Linked DNA regions of Homo sapiens: region 2 is linked to region 1. The links are contacts of gene promoters, found by promoter capture Hi-C in human tissues and cell types (Jung and others, 2019). All regions are on one chromosome and are shown on one strand. Each heading gives the region's core, a stretch centred on a gene start or on the middle of the fragment in contact. The rest is flanking DNA. Distances are from core to core; before and after follow the strand shown. Region 1 holds the start of SLC1A1 (solute carrier family 1 member 1). Region 2 overlaps SPATA6L (spermatogenesis associated 6 like).

The links. The method cuts DNA at HindIII sites, captures the fragments that hold promoters and counts their contacts. A contact is called where the count stands out against the background at its distance.
Region 2: a fragment that was not itself captured here is called in contact with the fragment with the promoter of SLC1A1 in region 1 in 1 of the 25 tissues and cell types used here (heart right ventricle).

Annotation. Positions count from the first base shown.
Region 1 is chr9:4,488,752-4,492,816 of GRCh38, forward strand. It overlaps SLC1A1 (solute carrier family 1 member 1), which reads left to right and starts at 1,717. Exons shown (of 12, transcript NM_004170.6): 1 at 1,717-2,019. The coding sequence starts at 1,929. It also overlaps a transcript of GLIS3 not described here. RefSeq lists an enhancer at 1,315-1,364 and a silencer at 1,515-1,944. The HindIII fragment of the contact is 11,033 bases long and covers 1-4,065 here.
Region 2 is chr9:4,639,857-4,643,921 of GRCh38, forward strand. The region is part of intron 3 of SPATA6L (spermatogenesis associated 6 like); the gene reads right to left. Among named protein-coding and RNA genes, the nearest start is that of PLPP6, 20 kb to the right of the region's middle. The HindIII fragment of the contact is 6,593 bases long and covers 1-4,065 here.

The DNA of each region.
Region 1 (4,065 bases), core at 467-2,966:
AAGTGATCCGCCTGCCTTGGCCTCCCAAATTGCTGGAATTACAGGTGTGAGCCATCGCGCCCGGGACTATTCTCCCTTTCTTGATAGTTTCCCTTCTGACATTTCCTTCCTTCTTTCTTTCTTTTTTCTTTTTTTTTGACAGTCTCGCTCTGTCGCCTAGGCTGGAGCGCAGTGGCTTGATCTCAGCTTACTGCAATCTCCACCTTCCAGGTTCAAGCGATTCTCCTCCCTCAGCCTCCCAAGTAGCTGCGACTACAGGCACGTGCCACCACGCCCGGCTAATTTTTTTGTATTTTTAGCAGAGACGGGGTTTCACTGTGTTAGCCAGGATGGTCTCAATCTCCTGACCTCGTGATCCGCTCGCCTCGGACTCCCAAAGTCCTGAGATTACAGGCAAGAGCCACCGCACCCGGGTCCCCTTCTGACATTTCTTCAGATCTTCCTCGGACACCCAACGACCTTAAAATCCCTCTAACCTTCTTTCTCTCAAAGTTTACTTTCTATAAAGAGCTGATAAACTCATTCATACTAAAGTCTACAGGGTTGTAAATCTTAATCTATTATCGCTTAAAAGATGCTTGTATCAATTTACACCAAAGGGATGAAGCTCTAATTGTGGGGATTTAGTCATCAGAAAATCTAGTAGGGGAAATTCTCCCTACCCACAATCAGAGTAGATTCTACAATAGCAAAAAGGGTTCCAGGCTCACTTAACTTTAGGAACGCTGATAAGAAGACCGCTTACAGCTGCGGAGGTACTGATTTGGTAAAGGGAGGGAAAGAGATTGTATACGTGAGAGTGAAAAAATTGGGTAGAAAAATGGAAGAGCATCAGAAATTCACTTAGCAACACCAAATATATTTGGCACCACTAACCTAGTTTCTCCTGTGTTTGCCTTTCCAATCCGTTGGACCTTAGGGGATGGACCGCCCACTTTCTCCCCAGAGCGGCTCCCGGGTCCGGTTCTCAGTTCTAATCACTGCCCCAAGCCTCCATGCTCCAGGGCCTGTGGTCACAGAGCAAGTCCCAAGGAGCAGAAGTAAAGTTCTAAGAGAAATCACCATCTCCTTGTGCAGGGAACACTCCCAAGCCCAGTGTCCACAGACAAATCACCTCCAGCGACTCGAAGAGGAGAATAATCCCTGTGGGGGCACTGGAGGCTCCGCGTGAAAGTTTCCAAAGCCATGTTCTGCCCCAGGACTCCTTTCTCTCCTCCCAGAAGCTTCAGGCTTTCGCGGCTGCTGGCACATCCCAGCCTGAGTAGCCGAGCAAGAGGGACCCAAGGCAGGATCAGCTTCCCCCGACTTGAAAGGGCACCCGTTCTGCAGGTGCCGGCGCTGGAAATAGCTGGTGTGGAGAACGGAGAGGGAGACGTGCAGGATGAAGTCCGCGCCCAGGAGGGCAGTGGCTCCGCCTCTCTGGGTTAGGGACAGAAGAAAACCCTTAACCCAAAGCCCTAGCATGAGTGAGGCGTGGAAAGCGAGACAGACTCCAGTGGAAGGCTGTGGGGCGGGACTCAGGGTTCCCGGAGAGGCCGCCCCAGCTCCTGCCGCAGCGCTGGGCGCCCTACCACGCCTGCTCCCTAGGGACCCCGGGCGTCCCACGCACGCACCCACCCTCCTTCCCGGGCCTGCCGCTCCTCCCTCCTTCCTCGCTGGTTGGCCCAGGCGCCGCAGAGCGCGGCGGCAGCAGGAGGAGCCGGGCGCGCCTGCCACGCAAAACTACCGGGCTGGCAGGGCGGCGGGCGCGGTGCGCGATCCCGGGTGGCGGCGGCAACGGCGGTGGTGACGGCGGCGACTGCAGCGGCCGGCTCTCACCTCTCCCCTGTGCACCCGCATCTCGCCGCGCCGCCGAGCAGCCAGCAGTCCCCGGGTCGCCCAGCCCACGCGCGCACGGCCGAGCCCAGCGCACAATAGCGGCGACAGCCATGGGGAAACCGGCGAGGAAAGGATGCGAGTGGAAGCGCTTCCTGAAGAATAACTGGGTGTTGCTGTCCACCGTGGCCGCGGTGGTGCTAGGTGAGCGGCGCGGCGGGTGGGCGATGCGCGCACCCTCACGCGCTCTCTGCGCCCAGGCCGCGTGCGGCTGAGGGTGGGCTTGGCGCTGGCGCACTCCATGCAGGGTCCCTCGATGCCCCCTCGGCCTTAGCCTCGGGCCCCCTGCGGGGGCTTTCCCCCAAGCGCTCTAATTACTGCACACCAAGAACAAAGCTCCTCTGGGACTCCCATTTGAGTGCTCCTTGAGCTGCTGGTTCCTGCTCTACCCAAAATGATCAAAGGGGCTTGGGGGTAGAAAGGGAAGCAAGTAGCTCTTGGTTCTGCTCGTTTGAAAACAGGGTTCGATTTTTTTCTTTGTTAATCCCGCACCGTATCTCCCCCTATCACCGCCACCTTCCTCACCCCACACCCCCAGCCTCGCTGCGCGGGCAGAGATTGAGTGTGGATTACAGTTCTCAGTCGAATTGGAAGAGGCACCCTGGCCTCCGGGATGGGCCGGACCCTTAGGGGAGGGAGGCTGAGAACGCTGTCGCCGCTCATCCTGGGCAGTGCGTGGAAAGGTGCCTTCCCACGCGGCGAGCGCCGACTGCCTGCACCCGGGCTCTGAAAAGCTGCCAGATTCGTGCCTGAATTCTGGGATGTGCCACTGTGGCCCGCGGGAGGTCACCGGGGAAGAGAGCTAAGAGAACTCAGCCGTCTCTTCTCCTGCCTTCCTTGCTCTCCACGTTGTTTTTGTATTTAAGATAATGTTTAAGCCATCCTTGCCTGTTTTTAAACAAGGGTGTATTTAAGTGATCCACCCCTCACAGATCACTGGACCAGGTGGATGTCTGAGCCATTGCTCAGAGGTATGAGTTATTCCTATTTAGATTCTGATTTTTTACCAAGGTTGTGTGTTTCTAGCTCCGGCCCGGGGATGCACTTCCTTGGGATTAGCGCCATATCTGTCGCCTTCCCAGTGATAGCTCCTCAGCAGGTGAGGGCTGTTGCACCCTCTGAGGAATGTGGATTCCTCGGCAGGCTCCACCTTCCCCTTGGAAACTGCAGCTGTGTTTGCTGAAAAGGCAAGTGGGGACAGCTTGTTTCCTCCCAACCTCAGGTACCTTCCTCTCCAACTGCTGCTCCTAAATCTCAGAATATATGGTGTTGCTTGCTTCTCCTCCGAACCGCCCCCTCCCCTCAGGGTGGGGATAGGGCATGGAAATGGCCTTTGGAAGTTAATGGGATTCTTGGGGTCAGATTGGATTCTCCAGAACCTTGGGGAAAGGAAAGTCAGGTTTCTAGTAAATAAATAACATCCTGGAATGGCCCTAGCAGAGGCTATTTGTAGGAGGAAAGGAGAGAAGTACAGAAGCAAATCTTGACTATTTCCCCCAAGAAGTGCCAAGTGGTTTTGGAACTTTTTTTTTTCGGTTTTGAACATTTTTAAGGGAAAGTTTATCCTACTCTACCATATTTAAATAGCATACGCTACAAAGAACGACTTGATTTCCTTTAGGCCAAAGAGAAGAGATGGCCTTGTTTGTTTTCCTAGTGATAAGAGTCGAGGATTAATTGTTAAATCTCTTTTTGAAGACTGAGAGATGCCAGGGCAAGGTGGCTCATGCCTATAACCCCAGTTACTCGGGAGGCTGAGGCAGGAGAATTGCTTGAACCCAGAAGGCAGAGGTTGAAGTCAGCCAAGATTGTGCCACTGCACTCCCGCCTGGGTGACAGAGCAAGAATCCACCAAAAAAAAAAAAAAAAAAAGGAAAAGGACTTTTAGAGGGCCAGGCACGGTGACTCACACCTATAATCCCAATATTTTGGGAGGCCAAGGAAGGAGGATTGCTTGAGCCCAGGAGTTGGAGACCAGCCTGGGCAACATGGCAAAATGCCATCTCTACAAAAAAGTACAAAAATTAGCGTGGTGGTGCACATCTGTAGTCCTAGCTACTCAGGAGACTGAGGTGGGAGGATCACCTGAGCCCAGGGAGGTCGAGGCTGCAGTGAGCCGTGATCGTGACTCTGCACTCCAGCCTGGGCAACAAGAATGAGACCTTGTCTAAAAAGAAAAAAAAAAAAGAC
Region 2 (4,065 bases), core at 522-3,021, 150 kb after region 1:
GATCACATTTGATTCCCTCTTTACAGATAAGGAAACTGAGGCTCTGAGAGTTTGACCTGTCATGATGCCACACGGCTAGTGATACCACATGGCAAAGAAGGAATTCAAAACCAAATAATCTGAGGCAAAAGTTCTTTCCTTGCTAATGCCTATAAAAGTATAAAAGCATTGCTATGAAAGTATAAAATATTGCTATAAAAGCACTGCTATAAAAGTATAAAATTAAGCCCTGTTAAGTGAATGGGTGCCCACTAGAATAGGCTTTTACAGTTGGACTGAATATACCTGACTTACCCAAAGCGAAGGTATTTATCTCAGAGGTTAATAAAAAGAAAGCATCAAGCTCACTGTGGAACAGGATCACGCTGCCCCCCTGTGTCCATTCCTTTTTTCCCACCTTTGTAAACTGAAGAACAGGAAGGGTCTTTATTTCTTGGCAGCAAAGATCACTAGACTTCTTCATTCTTTAGCAGTAAAGCTATATGCACATCTGGATATTATTACTTGTATTATTAATTTACTTGTACCATTAACTTAATGATCATAACATGTCTTTTGAGTATAAGTGTGTTTGAAAGCAATGAGAAAAAATATCAAGCAATAAATACAGCTAAATGAAAAGGTAACAATTCAGCCAATAGAGAAATTGGTCCCTGAGAACCCAAATATGGCCCATGTGACCCCACAGTGCAGTCCACAGGAAACTTTAAGAAAAAAAAAAAATTTTTGCTAGTATCAAGGATCAGCAGATCATGAGGGCTCACTGCCACTACTACGTGCCCGGAGCCACCAGCATCACACTAGGAAGACTGGCACAGTGTAGATCATGTGCAAAGTATGCCTGTAAAAACATACCTTGAACAAATTAATGGATCAAACTGTACTACATCTGAAGCTAAGTAAAATCAATTGTTATTTTGAGCAATTCAAATTTAATTCCACTAAAATTATAATCTGAAATTGAGAGATTGTAAATTAAAAAAACAAGTATAACACAGTTCCCATTGTGCATCTTATTAATTTTTGAGTTATAACCAGTATTTATGCACTCAGCTAGAATATTCTGCAATCATTCTTTTCAAACAACTATTCTTGCAACCTTTTCACAGATGGGCTTCTTGTCACATGAAAAACATATAGCACTCCAAGACATATTAAGTTTTAACAAGCAAGTTGCAGAATATATATAGTCAACATATATATAGGTGTGTGTGTATATATGTTGAAAATACATATTCTGCAACTGACTTTTTAAAATGCAGTATATCTTGGACTGTCATATGTCTTTCAAGAGACCAGAAAACCAACATTTAGTATATTCAACAACCATAAAATATATACACACGTAACTATATATACTAAATACTAAATATATTCGTGTTTATATATACTGTATTTAATATATAGTCATCCCTAAGTATCCACAGGAGGTTGGTTTCAGGAACCCTTGCAGATATGAAAATATCCATGAATGCTCAAGTCCCTGATATAAAATGGTGTAGTTGCGGTGAGTTGGTCGAAGGTAAAAAGAGCATAATAATAAAACATTAAAAATAAGAAATAAAATGGTGTAATATTTGCATATAACCTATGCACATCCTCCTGTATACTTCAGATCATCTCTAGATTACTTATAATACCTAACATAATGTAAATGTTATCTAATAGTTGTTATGCTGTATTGTTAAGGGACTAATGACAAGAAAAAGTCTGTACATGTTCAGTACAGACACAACCATCATAGGCCTAACTACATTTTCGAGTAATGGTTAGCCAAATTCATGGATGTGGAACTTGACAATCAGAAGGTCCAACTATATATAGGGTATGCGCGTGCATGTGTGGTTATTTTACGGTTGGCTGAATGTACTAAATGCATTTTAGAAGGTTTAAAAAGACACACATCAAATTGTTTTGTTCTGTTTTGTTTTGTTGAGACAGGGTCTCACTCTGTTGCCCAAGCTGGAGTGCAGTGGCAAGATCACAGCTCACTGCAGCCTCAACCTCTTTGGCTCAGGTGACCTCCCCAGCCTCCCAAGTAGCTGGGACTACAGGCATGCACCAGCACACATAGCTAATTTTTTTATTTTCAGTAGAGATGAGGTTTCACCATGTTTCCCGGGCTGTACCTGAACTCCTGTGCTCAAGCAATCCACCCACCTTTGCCTCTCAAAGTGCTGGGATTACAGGCGCAAGCCACCATACCTGGCCCACATCAAATTGTTAATGGTAATTATCTGTCAGGGATTGTTGAATGGGCTTTTGACATTTTCTTTTACATACTTTCGTGTTAAATTTTTTATAGTGAGATTACTTAGGTATTGAGTAACTTTTTTAAAATCCATGTAAAATTAAATAAGACCAAAGTGGGCATGCTTCTACTTCCTCAGCATACTAAAATATAATGTGCCAGCAGTGATATATGTTTGAACATAAAATTGGGTCAAATAAGAATAAAAAACTTATGGAAAAAAACTCAATGCCCTGATTTCAGCCTGTCACTTTTAGGCTGAAAAACATTCAGTGAGAATTTCTGAAAAGTAGTCAGGAGGCACCTGCTCAGTTCCGTCTACCTATGAAGGTAATGACATCTCCAAAAGCACCTATTCTTAAATTCACAGAGTGGGGTTCTTTTCTGTCTCCAGCGGCAGCCTTTGCCAAAGAACCAAGAAGCAGAAGAAAGAACTACAGACTCCTGGGTTCACTGCACTTCACTTGGGCCCTTGACCTGCTCCAGTGATATCCACAGCAGGCAGGACTATGATCCCTATCAAAAGCCTCCTCAGTCCTCTTTGCTTTAGTTGAGACATTTGCTAGTCTCATCTTCCTTCTCCCATGCTCTCTTAAGAAAAAGAAAAGCACACACCATAAAACATCAAAATAACACAACAAAACAGGGAAAATATAACTGTTTTAAGCATAACTGATTGAAAACATTGTTAAAAATAAGAATTTATAACAAAATCAACATTTATATCCAGACATCACTCCATAAGTAATCAAAGGACAGTGACAGTCACTTTATACAGAAGGAAAGAAAGAAAACAAATCATAATATGGGAAAATGAAAATTTTTAAGAAGTTTTAAATTTAAGGTTGTCACAGTCACATCTAAAAGGGAGATAGATCATAAAATAGGATAAAATATATTTTTATCTATTTATTTATTTAGATGGAGTCTGGCTCTGTGGCCCAGGCTGGAGTGCAGTGGTGCAATCTTAGCTCATTGCAACCTCTGCCTCCCGGGTTCAAGCAGTTCTCCTGTCTCAGCCTCCCAAGTAGCTCGGATTACAGGCACCTGACATCATTCCCAGCTAATTTTTGTATTTTTAGTAGAAACAGGGTTTCACTATGTTGGCCAGGTTGGTCTCAAACTCCTGACCTCATGATCCGCCCACCTTGGCCTCCCCAAGTGCTGGGATTATAAGCGTGAGCCATGACATACTTTGCAAACACAACAAATCCAATTGACAGTATCCAGCATTAACTAGGATATGGGGAAGGGGCATGCCATGCACTCCTGGATGCAGTAGAAGTATTGGAACCTTATTGGGGATCAGTTTACCCCAGTTTAAAAGGCATGGTTCAATCTAGTAATTCTATTATTTGTAAATATACCAAGAGAGAAATATTTTTATAAAAATGTGGAAAAAAAGAAAATCTAAATGCTCAACAATATTAATTTATGGATAACACCACCACTATGGAAAAATACACAGCTATTGAAAATGACAAGTAAACTACAGGTAATAATGTAAAGTAAGAAAAGTAAAACCCAAAATACTATGGAAATACTATTTATAGACCTATAAAAAACACATATGTAAATTAATAAAATTCTTTATAGCTATCAAAATAATGATGTAGGCCGGGGGCAGTGGCTCACGTCTGTAACCCCAGCACTCTGGGAGGCCGAAGCAGGCAGATCACCTGAGGTCAGGAGTTCGACACCAGCCTGGCCAACTTGGTGAAACCCTGACTCTACAAAAAATACACAAAAATTAGCTGGACGCATTGGCAGGTGCCCATAATTCCAGCTATTCAGGAGGCTGAGGCAGGAGAATC